Regions from separate parts of the Homo sapiens genome. Here region 1 is linked to region 2. The links are contacts of gene promoters, found by promoter capture Hi-C in blood cells and fetal thymus (Javierre and others, 2016). All regions are on one chromosome and are shown on one strand. Each heading gives the region's core, a stretch centred on a gene start or on the middle of the fragment in contact. The rest is flanking DNA. Distances are from core to core; before and after follow the strand shown. Region 1 has its middle 38 kb from the start of KRTAP19-8. Region 2 holds the start of KRTAP8-1 (keratin associated protein 8-1).

What was found. The method cuts DNA at HindIII sites, captures the fragments that hold promoters and counts their contacts. A CHiCAGO score of 5 or more calls a contact.
Region 1: a contact is called between a fragment that was not itself captured here and the fragment with the promoter of KRTAP8-1 in region 2, in 1 of 17 cell types (M2 macrophages). The highest score is 5.7, in M2 macrophages.

Annotation. Positions count from the first base shown.
Region 1 is chr21:31,073,287-31,079,017 of GRCh38, forward strand. No RefSeq gene overlaps it. Among named protein-coding and RNA genes, the nearest start is that of KRTAP19-8, 38 kb to the left of the region's middle. The HindIII fragment of the contact is 5,615 bases long and covers 798-5,731 here.
Region 2 is chr21:30,810,045-30,815,589 of GRCh38, forward strand. It overlaps KRTAP8-1 (keratin associated protein 8-1), which reads right to left and starts at 3,230. Exons shown (of 1, transcript NM_175857.4): 1 at 2,653-3,230. The coding sequence starts at 3,176. The coding sequence ends at 2,985. The HindIII fragment of the contact is 5,395 bases long and covers 235-5,545 here.

The DNA.
Region 1 (5,731 bases), core at 2,355-4,854, 260 kb after region 2:
CTGCTTCTGGCCGAATCCCATCCTATTAAAAATCATACACCACCTTGTAGAGTTAGTTGTCTATTTTAAACTCTTTCTAATTTTACTAATAGATTGGAAACCCCTTGAAGAGAATTATCTCCCTAGCAACCATTTATCATGCCTTCCACATAATAAATGTAAAGTGCTCAATGGTTTAAATTAGAAATGACTTCTTAGTGAAAAAAAAAAATCACATGGAGAAAAAGAAATATCCTAACCAAAATATCCTGCCCAACAAGTAAAACAGGCAATTTAATACAGCTATGCACAGTAGAACTCGCTAGAATAATTGCTTCCCAGACTGCAGGCTCCAAGGGGAAAGAATCACCTTTGTGCCCGCCACAGAGGAGATCAACAAATAACTATACTTAACTAATTAACTACAAGTAACTCAAAAGTTGTATTTCAACACCCCCCATATTAGTTTTCTATTGCTACTGCAACAAATTACCACAAACTTAGTGGCTTAAACTGACACAGAATTATTGTCCTATAGTTCTGTAAGTCTAAAGTCTAACTGGACTAAAATCTAGGTGTCAGGAGGGCTAGGTGTCTAGGTGTAGGGCTAAGTTCATTCTGAAGGCTGGAGGGGAGAATCTGGTTCCTGGCCTTTCTCAACTCCTAAAGGTGGCCTGCATTCATTGGCTCATAGCCCCTCCCTCCATCTTCAAAGCCAGCAGGGTAGCATCTTCAAATCTCTCTCTGTGACTCAGACACTTTTGCCTCCCTCTTAATAAGGACAATTGTGATTACAGGCAACCACAGTAATCCAATAAAGCTTCCCATCTCAAGACCCTTAACTTAATCTCATCTGCAAACTCCCTTTTGCCATGTTAGGTAACATATTTGCAGATTTCAGGAATTAGGATGTGGACATTTGGGGGCCATTGTTCTACCTACCACCACTCCCCCACCACAAACACACACACACACACACACACACACACACACAAACACACAAATGACTATGTGGCAATGTCAGACATTTGTGAAGCTCCCCAGTGCTGATAGAGGATTTTTAGAATTTTTCACATTGCTCCCATCAGAGAGATAAAAACAGAGCAAAGGAAAGATGCCACTACCCCCACCTTCCAGGGGAGAGCGGGTACATGTCTTCTCCTCTGTGGCCAGCCTCTCCCTTGACTTCTTACACTGCGGCTGCAACTACAAAGTTCATCGCCAACTGAAATGTATTAATCAAATAATTTTTATATGTGATAGGTGGTTATGGGAACCTCTTTTATAAAGGAAACGAAGTTAAAACCAGAGGATCACTTAAAATTGGGGTGTACCCACGTTTATTTTGTCAAGCTCCAGCATCTGTAATCCCAGATATTTGGGAGGCTGAGGCAGGAGGACTGCTTGAGCCCAGGAGTTTGAGGCTGCAGTGAGCTATGATCATGCCACTGCACTCCAGCCTGGGCCACAGAGGAACACTCTGTCTCTAAAAATGAAAAAGAATATTTTATCAAGCTCAGCATCCTGAATCCCACTCAGAAGGCTACTGCCCCCATGATTCCTTAGGGCTTTAGCCTCAGAGTGAAGCAATGTGGGAGCCTTCCCTAGAAAAATCAAATTTCTATGATTTGGTTTTTGAACAAAATAAGTAACAGAGGAGAAGAAAGAAAAACAGAGAAGACCAGAGGAGAAGAGGAAATGAGAGGGAAAGGAAAGGGAGGAGAGGAGGAAAAAGAGAGATGGTAGATAAAAATTTTCAGGGCATGCTTCCTTAGGAAGCAAAAACTTAGGCAACGCTTGCATCCGGTTTTCCTGAGGAGTGCAACACACTGGAATCTGGAGTGGAGGAAAGGACAGTAGAGTGGCAAAACATAGCAAATAGAAGGGTATCCTCTCCCAGCTGGGCACATCTTCAAAATCAAGTATATCGTGCCTATCACATGGACAGCCTCCAGATGCTACCCGGAAACTAGAACCACATGGGGAGGGAAGGAGAGCAATTGATCTGTAGGCTTGTTCTTGTCTCCCATTCTCATCAGTCCAAGTTCATATAAGTTGTGTTACCTGGTCGCTCTGGGAAGCCATTGGGAAACCAGACATCACTCCCTGAACACAGTCTTTATCTCAGTTCTAAAGGAGTAGGAAGGCCAGAGCCCTGTGAGCCTGGTCTTAGCTAACTCCAAGTTCAAACTCAACTGATCCACTGTCTCTAGGGATGCCTTTGCAGGACAGACCTTGATGGAAGCATGGGACCTCAAACCCCCCTGGTCTGTCTTTAGCTACTACATTCAAGGCCCCAGGAACTTAGTTAAGACAATTCATCCCCAGGGAAACTAGCTGGGCTTCCATCTTGCTTCTTCTTGGCCACAGGACCAAGACTCTATCACTTTAGTGCTGGATATGCTGTGGTTCTACATCCATGAGCACAGTGGAGGTCACAACAGCCACATTGCATAGTCACAGTGAGCTCTGTGATGTGTAGGAAGTGAGCCAGGGGCACAGCTGCCCAGAGAGCCCTTGCCACAGAGGAAGTTATGGTTCAAGACTTATGGGAAAGAAAAGATGTAACATGGGGCACTGAGAGGCACATAAAATTGGACCCGATACCAAACCCAAGCACACAGTAACTTGTACATAACACCAAATTATGCCATGGCGATGAAGTGCTTTGAATTTCAGTGGGAAAAAAATCTCCCAAAGCTGAGGGGACAACGACAGCATCAGAGAAGCAGCAGCTCTCAAGCTAAGCTATGAGGGAGAGCTTGTAATAAGTAATTCCCAAAGATGGAGGTTGCGTAATCACGCTGTAATCACATAAGTGCATCAGGTGCTGTCCTAGAAACTTTCCATTAAATAGTCCATTTAATCAACCGCTCTGTCTGGGAGAGTTAAGGATGTCATTCCCATTCAACTAATAAGGAAGCTGACAATACAGTTTAGTGGAGGTCATTCAAAGTAGCAAAAAGAGCTAAAGATGTGGAAGAGTTGACGGCTCATTAAGGAGAAAAGAAAAATATATTTTTAAGGGGTAGATAACCCCCAGACCCAGGAGGGTCTTCAGAGCTGGGCTGTCGAGTTGGAACATTATTTGGTGACAATGAGGCAAGCAGGGAAGGGTTATCTACTGAGGAATGACTTGTGTATAAAGTTTCAGAAGATAATCCTGCTGGTGGCATGAAGAACGAAGGCAGAGACCAATGGAAAGATAATCAGACTTCTGTCTTCCATGTAGAAGACAGAGGCCCTGGTGACCCTGAAAACTTGAAAGTTGACAAGATGGCAGGAAGGGTGAAGACAACCCCGGGGCTCTTCCACGAGCATATCACAGGTGGCCCAGTGCAACTGAGGGGAACTACATTCCCTATTTGTCCTTCTGCACTGATTGTGCAAAGCTCTCACCATGAGACCTGGCTCACCCAAAGGCTATAGACTAGTGTGAAACTTTCAACTCGCTGTGACTCTCCCAAAGACAGAGTGCATGAGGGCTCAGGACCAGCCCTGCCTTAATCCTCACATATCCTTTGTAGTCGCAGAATCATATCACTTGGCACTTCCATTTCCAAGCAGTTCTAGAACTTTCCAGGTGCACTTGCTAATTATCACAGACCACCGGGTGCTGGGAGAAGCAGCTACGGTGATCACAGCCATGAGCAGAGCACAGTTGGGCCCAAAACTAGTGGCTGCATGAAAATGAAATGCAGAAGACCTGTTTCTTTGCAATATGTTATTATATTCACCAGATAAACATGAAGCTCATGAATTATCTTTCATTCGGTAAGATTAGCAACTCTTAGGAAATGATTTCCTACCTGGGATGAGAAAAAATCTAATTTATTATAAATGAAATATGCAACCCTATATGCAAACACTTATAGGAGATGGGTTTGTATGAGCTTTGTGCTGTTACAGAAAGCTAAATTTCCCTGGAGACTCTGAAAAGGTTATCACACGTGGTTTCTTACTGTCAGCCTATGGGCGAGGCAGGGTCTGTGAGGAATGGTCTCAAGCAACAGCCTCTCTTAGGAGCCAGTAAACTGCACTCTCTGGAGTCTGCTCCCCACCTGCCCTCATGCCCTTCTTCCCCTCCTCAGCAATCACAGTTCCAAATCAGTTCCTCTCACTTCCTTCAAGTCTTGCCCCTCACCTCCATTTGAGAATTCAAAGTAGAGTTTAGATCTTTTACAGGTCTGCTGGAGAAATTGGCTCTGAAAACATGACTTAAATTAGAGCTTAAGCAACCAGAGAAAAATATTCAAGACCTAGAGAGAATTTCAGGAGAACATTTATACATATCCTGTTATAGTATAATAGGTGGAATGGTGGTCCCCAAAAATAGGGTCACGTGTGGTGGCTCATGCCAGTAGTCCCAGCATTTTAGGAAGCCAACGTGAGAGGATCATTTGAGCCCAGGAATTCAAGACCAACCTGGGCAACACAGCAAGACCCCATCTCTACAAAAAAAAAAAAAAAACTAGCTGAATGTGATGCTGCATGCTTATAGTACTAGCTGCTAGGGAGGCTGAGGCAGGAGGATCTCTTGAGCCCAAAAGTTCGAGCCTACACTGAGCTATGGTCACACCACTGCACTCCAGCTTGGGTGACAGAGGGAAACCGTGTCTCAAAAAAATGAATAAAAATGAAAAAGATACGTTCCCATCCTAATTCCCAAAACCTTTAAATGTTAATTTATTGGGGAGAAGTATGTTTGCAGTTGTGATTAAGAATCTTGAGATAAGATGATCCTGGATAATTAGGTGGGCCCTAACTTCAATGACAAGTGTCCTTATAAACAAAGGGCAAAGGGAAATTTGAGACAGAAGAGGGGAAGACACAGAGAATAGGAGGAAGCAATGTAACCATGGAGGTGGAGATTGGAGAGATGCAACCACACACCCAAGAATGCCGACAGCAACCAGAAGCCAGAGGGGCAATGGATGGAATATCTTCTGGAGCCTCTAGAAGGAGTATAGCCCTGACCCTGACAACAACCCCATTTCAGACTCCTGGCCTCCAGAACTCTGAGAGAATAAGTTTCTGTTTTAAGCTACATAATTTGTGATAATTTGTGACAGAAACCACAGAAGACAAATACACCTGGTTTTAAGCAGACAACTTAAACCATTGTTAATCATTTCTTCTTCCACTGCCTGCCGTGCCATATACACAGGCCTATACACATTAACAACACTACCGCCAATACCATCATCTTCTGAAAAGTTTTATTTGCATGTCGCTCTGCAGATAATAACCCTTCAGTGCCAGCAGAAGACTCAGTATGGGATTCTTGTTGAAATTGGTGGGAAGAGAGGACTGGGGATTAGTGGGAGCTGTCGGGAGCTACCTTGAGACCACAGAGGGACATCAGGCTGAGATCAGAATCAGCACAGAAAAGAGCAGAACTGAAAACAGAGACATCAAGGCAACACCCCAAAACACCCCTGGAACCCCCGAGCTTTTCAGTTAAGTGAGATAATATGTCCTTGCTTTATTAATTTGAGTTTATTGACCTTTTTTTCACTTGCAACTGACTTGATTCAGGACACAAAGCAACGCAGACCCCAAGAACATAAGCAATGCCTGAGGTTTTCTGTGAGAACAGCCTGAAAGCCAGTATCTATTTGAGTGATGACTCTCATCGGTTTTTGGTTTTAAAGTTAGTCCAAGAGAAAGTGAAAGAACAAATCAAAACATGAATTTTATCTGTGGTTCAGTTTTCTATGATATCTCCCCACCCAGTCCTGGCTACTGTGGC
Region 2 (5,545 bases), core at 1,980-4,479:
TTAATTCGACTTACTGGGGGTCTCTCTAGAAGATTCTTCTATACATAAGATGCCCTTAATATTCAAATCAAGTTCTCAGTTATATACACTGTATTAAGCAGGGAGATGTTAAAGATATGCAGCCTGGTTTTCAATGAGAAGAAACAAGCAATTAATGGTGAAATAGAAAATCAAAACAATACTTCCTGTGTGACTTTGTGAGATAAATCTAAGTCATAAAATGCACAGACATCAAGCTTCCAGCTCACAAATGGCTATGAATTAAAGAATGGCACTGCACGATGGTAGCAAACAGATGTTTAACATCTTTTTCGTGTTTATTGAGGAAAGTGGTCTGATAATCTTGTCATACATATTGAGTTTCTACTATGTACAGAGCACTAAACTGGGCTCAGATCAATACCAAAGTTGATAAAGCAATTAGAAACAAATACCTAACTACACTCTATACAGACTACCATTAAGCCTAAATGTAGCAGTAAGTGTTCATTCCAGGCTTTTCTTAAATTGACCTGTAACATATTACTTACTGTTTTCATTTTTTATGAATTCTATATAAATATGGAGGAATTATCTTGGTTTTTAAATTCAAAATAAAAGGAGAGAACTAAAAAAGACAGAAAAGAACAGCCATGAAACCAGACCCTGTAATTGTTTTAAATTGATGGCATAAAACCAAATTACTTACAGGGATTTTTTTAAATACAAATCCCCAGACCCCATAGATCTTCCCATCAGAATGTGCATGGGTGGGATCTTGGTATACGCATTTAAAAAGACTGAATTTCAGTTTTTAAAAATAATCATTAAATAATATTAAGTAATGTAGGCACACTAGGAATTTGTACACTTCTATGCAATAGGAGAAAGTGAATTTATAAAATCCTTACATAACATACTTTTTCCTTTTAGCAGGTCATGGCATCTGAGCCTTCAGCACCAGACTACTGGATATCTACCTAATAGATCCTTTCTCTGTCTAAAAATAGTAGACATTGTTACAGCCAACGCAATCTTCAGTTTGGAACTTTCTAGCAACCACACATTAACTCAAGTTGAAAAGTGCTAAACACAGATGTTGTACCTCCTGTACTCCTTTGGGGATGTAAAGTATCTTCTCTCCTCTGTCCTTGTCTTGTTGAGATGTGCTAGACACTTTTTGAGTAAAAGACTTTCCTTTATCAAGACTCAGTGTCATAAATAAATGGTGTGGGTGGGTGGGTAGTGTACATCTGTAATGACCTGAAACAGTGCTTCTTAGAGTGTGGGTCTCAGACCACCTGTACTAGAAGTCATCAGGAGCATCTTAAAAGTTTAGATTTCTAGACCTGATCCCAGATGTACTGAGTCAGAATCCCTAGGGGCAAGGCATAAGAATCTAAATTTTTAAGTCAGCTACTCAGGTAATTCTCCTGCATACTGAAATTTCCAAAACACTAGAGGAGGTGCTCTCTGAGGTCCCTTCAAGCCCAGATTTTTATATAAGTCAGTCATCTTTACAGAACAGACTGATAACCTTCTAGTTTCGATCTGATGCTCTAATTTCTGAAAAATCCCACTTTTCTTTTTCTGTTCTATTTTAACCTGCATGTTTAATTAATTCACAATTCTCAGCATGAATTAACATATGGCTGCTAGAAAGTTGCAAACTGGAGATTTTGTTGGCTGTAACCTTGTCTACTATCGCTAAAAAGGAAAACAATCAATTATTTCCCGATTTTTTAAAAAAGATATACATTAGATAAAGTATGGTGGAGAAAATACTCTCTTCTGAAATGACCTCGCCAAATAGTCTTTATGTTTTTAACTACGAAGTGAACCATATGCAATATAATCACTTGCACATATTCAATAAAAAAGCAGGGTTAAGCCAAATTTTGTTACCACCAAGAATATTTGTACTATACATAAGATGTTTTCAATAGAAGGATTGAGACTTTTTTTATCTGGCTTATAAAAGGAAATTGCTCCCTTCCCTAAAGGAACACAGAGAAAAGCTGATACATCTTCAGAAATATTCATTACAGCTCATATCTTTTAAGTGAAACTCGCTATCTGGTGTTGATTCTATAAAGATTAAGAAACTTGTCATGGTTGTGAATAACCCAGGTGCTTCAAAGCTACAAAATAGACACCTTAGATGGTTTGATATAGGGGATTTATCCCTTCACCTTAAAAACTCTCAGATTTCCAAAGGATGTCTGTGGCTTCTCTATTACTCAATGCTCCAGCATCCTTCATTAGGGGGCATGGCACTTTAGTCTATAATCCTTAGTCCCTGGGAAAGGGAACACAGTGGATTTCATTTGGACTAACATGGAAGTGACTGAAAAAGTTCCTCCTGTGTTGGGTTTTCTTGCGGAGGAGCAGAAGTAGTGAGATGAGAAGGGGACCCCGAGCAATAAATGGTGCTCCATTGGGTTGGAGGTGGGCATCATAAAATTTAAAGAAGGTTCAAACAGGCAACCTTTTAAGTCATTACCTGCAACCCACCCTCTTACCTGCTTATCACACAGGATCAGTAATTCTTTGCTTTCTGGCTGTTCCTAATGCCCACATGAGAAAAATAAATTCACTTCCCCCCCACCACCCATGTAACAGAAAATATGCACACACCAAGAAAGGAAACTTCGCTCTAGCATGAGAATATTATACCAGCTGAGACAAATTTATTGAGATTTTGATAGACATATCCATGACTTCATCACAAGTCATGAGTGTCATGGAAAATTCAAAAGTAGCTCATGACAAGTGGGAGGTCAAATTTCCGAAAATGTCCCAGAGAACATCAGCCAGGGGAGGCAGCTTGAGGAAGCGTCTGCTTTTTCATTTTCCTCCCCTGGGACTCGAGGTAAGTTGGAAAGCAGTGTCTCTGAGGTTGATGAGCAAATGAGGACTGAAGGAGTGGATACGGGGGGAACCTGGAGATGTGGGGCTCAGCCTTCAAGGGAGAGAAGATGCTACACCTCGGGGATTTCAGCCAATCAGTAGAGAGCAAATGGCGAGTATCTCCTGTAGCCGAAAGCCCCACAGCCGTTGTAGCCATAGCCGAAGCCATAGCCCACTGGAGAGTAGGTGCTGCCATAGCCACAGCCAACGCTATATCCCAGCGGGTAGCCATAGCTGCCCCAGTAGCATCCTGGGAAGACAGCCCCGGGGAAGTTGTCGCAGAGCATGGTGTCGGGAGTGGAGGGCTTAGGTAGCAACAGAGTGCGTTTCCTCAGTGGGATGGATTCCTAGTCTCAGAACCTTCTTTATATATCCCAGCTCTGGTGGGTGGTGAAAAACACAAAGCCCTCATTTTCATTCTTGACACCAATTTACATTCTAAAAAGCTCATTAACTTGTTTTGCTCTTGCTTATGATGTCTTTACAGTGGCTTAAGAAAGCTCTCGTGTGATGCAATACAGGGAGAAGATGCCTTTAAACAAATTATTTCCCTTCCTAAAAAAAAAAAAATTATTGCCAGGACTTCAAAGCACTCTGTCTTATAGACCCCATATAACTCTGTAAGCAGGTATATAATATCAAGAAATATTCTGAGGTTGTTAGCTGTTATGCAGTCCTCTTGCTCTCTGAATTTCCACAACACACAGTTGAAATTCAATAAATATGTGTTAAATACATTAATATATAAAATAACAAATGGATAGTGAGTCTATCTCAAAATTCTCAAAATTAAAGTATGTCTTAGTATTCACCTGCTTCAAGGATTCTCTTTTTTGGAATATGAAAGACAAGTGCAATGGAACTCATGAGAAAGAGTCTTTTTTTTTTCCTCTACTACAGCTACCGTGTTTGGGAAACTGGTTAAAAGTGTAATCTTAATCATAGTCCCCTCCTAAACTATACCTAACATCACATTTCTAGAAGACTACTTGAATTAATAGTATTGAGATTTTAAAACGGAGTATTTGGATTAATCCTTGTACTGAATTGTCAAACAAATTTAATTTTTTGGCCTGAAACATATTTCAAACTAAACATTGAAACTAATAAGGTAAACACAGAAAAATGAATTAAAAAATTTATTGTAAGATTTAAAATTTTTTTTCTCTTAGATCTAATGAAACTAGATTGTCTGACAAATGTGATGATATTATAAAGGGCCAGATGACAACATGAAATCAGTTATTTCACTTTTACAATGATCATGCACCCCAGGATAAAGAAGGAATGTTATTCCTTTCTAAACAGAGAGTCAGTTCTCAAGCATGAGTTAAAGGAGGGATAAGGCTGATCAAAACTATCTTGGATCATGTAAGACCTGATATATTATTCTCAGACACCTGCATTAAGATTTCTTACAGTGGCACTTAGTAGAGAACTTACAGAACAAATACCAAAGAGGGCATATGGAACAGAAATAGGCACAGAGATAATAGGAATCATTCTAGAAGGCCACAAAACAGATATGTATTACACATGAGCTCTCCCAGATTTTACTTCATAACCCAGAGGTAACTTTGCTCCCTGCTATCAGCAGCTAGGAATCAAAGGCTGAATCCAAGAACAAGATGAGACACTTGGAAAATTCAAAACCATGCCAGTGTTCTAGCCAGCAGTAGACTAATTACAGCAGAGGCATTTTTTTTAAATATAGATATATATATAATTTTTTTTTGAGGCAGAGTCTTGCTTTATTGCCCAGGCTGGAGTGCAGTGGTGCAATCTGGACTCACTGCAACCTCCACCTCCTTGGTTCAAGCGAGTCTCCTGCCTCAGCCTCCCGAGTAGCTGGGATTACAGGTGCATGCCACTGCGCCAGGCTAATTTTTGTATTTTTAGTAGAGACAGGGTTTCAGCATGTTGGCCAGGCTGGTCTCGAACTCCTGACCTCAAGTGATCTGCACATCTCGGCCTCCCAAAGAGCTGGGATTACAGGCGTGGGCCACCGCGCCTGGCCTAAATTTTTTTATTTTTAGTTTTTGTGAGTGCATGGTAGGTTTATATATTTATAGAGTACATAAGATGTTTTGATACAGATATGCAATGCGTAATAATCACATTCTGGAGAATGAAAACACCTACAGTACCCTGCTTCGTGAGCAAACCTGGATGGCTGCCTATGGGGATTCAGTAATTAAAATTCAAACACGATATGTGGCTTATAGCTAAACAAGTTCAGGGAATTGAAATTAGATTTATTCCCAAAACATAAAGGTATTCAACCACAGATCATTCCCTAAAAATCATAGAATGATTTACATACTATTTCTACTGGCATCACATTGCTGTGTTTCATGATAGAAAAGCTGGTAATGTTAGGGAAAAAAGAAAAATTAGACAAAAAATAGCATTGTATAATGGATAATTTAAAATTTTTGAATTAATATTGCCAAAGGTCAATTATGTTGCTCTATTTAAAAGAATTCTCCCATTCGCCTACCCAATCTGACAAGATGCTAGCTTTGCCTTCTGCAGCACAAAACCTAGCTCTGAACATGAATAGTAATTAAAATATGTTGTCTTTTTTAAAACTTAAGCCCTATTTACAGAGAATGGCTTGGATTTTCTCTAGAAAGTCTACAGAAAATTCTAACAG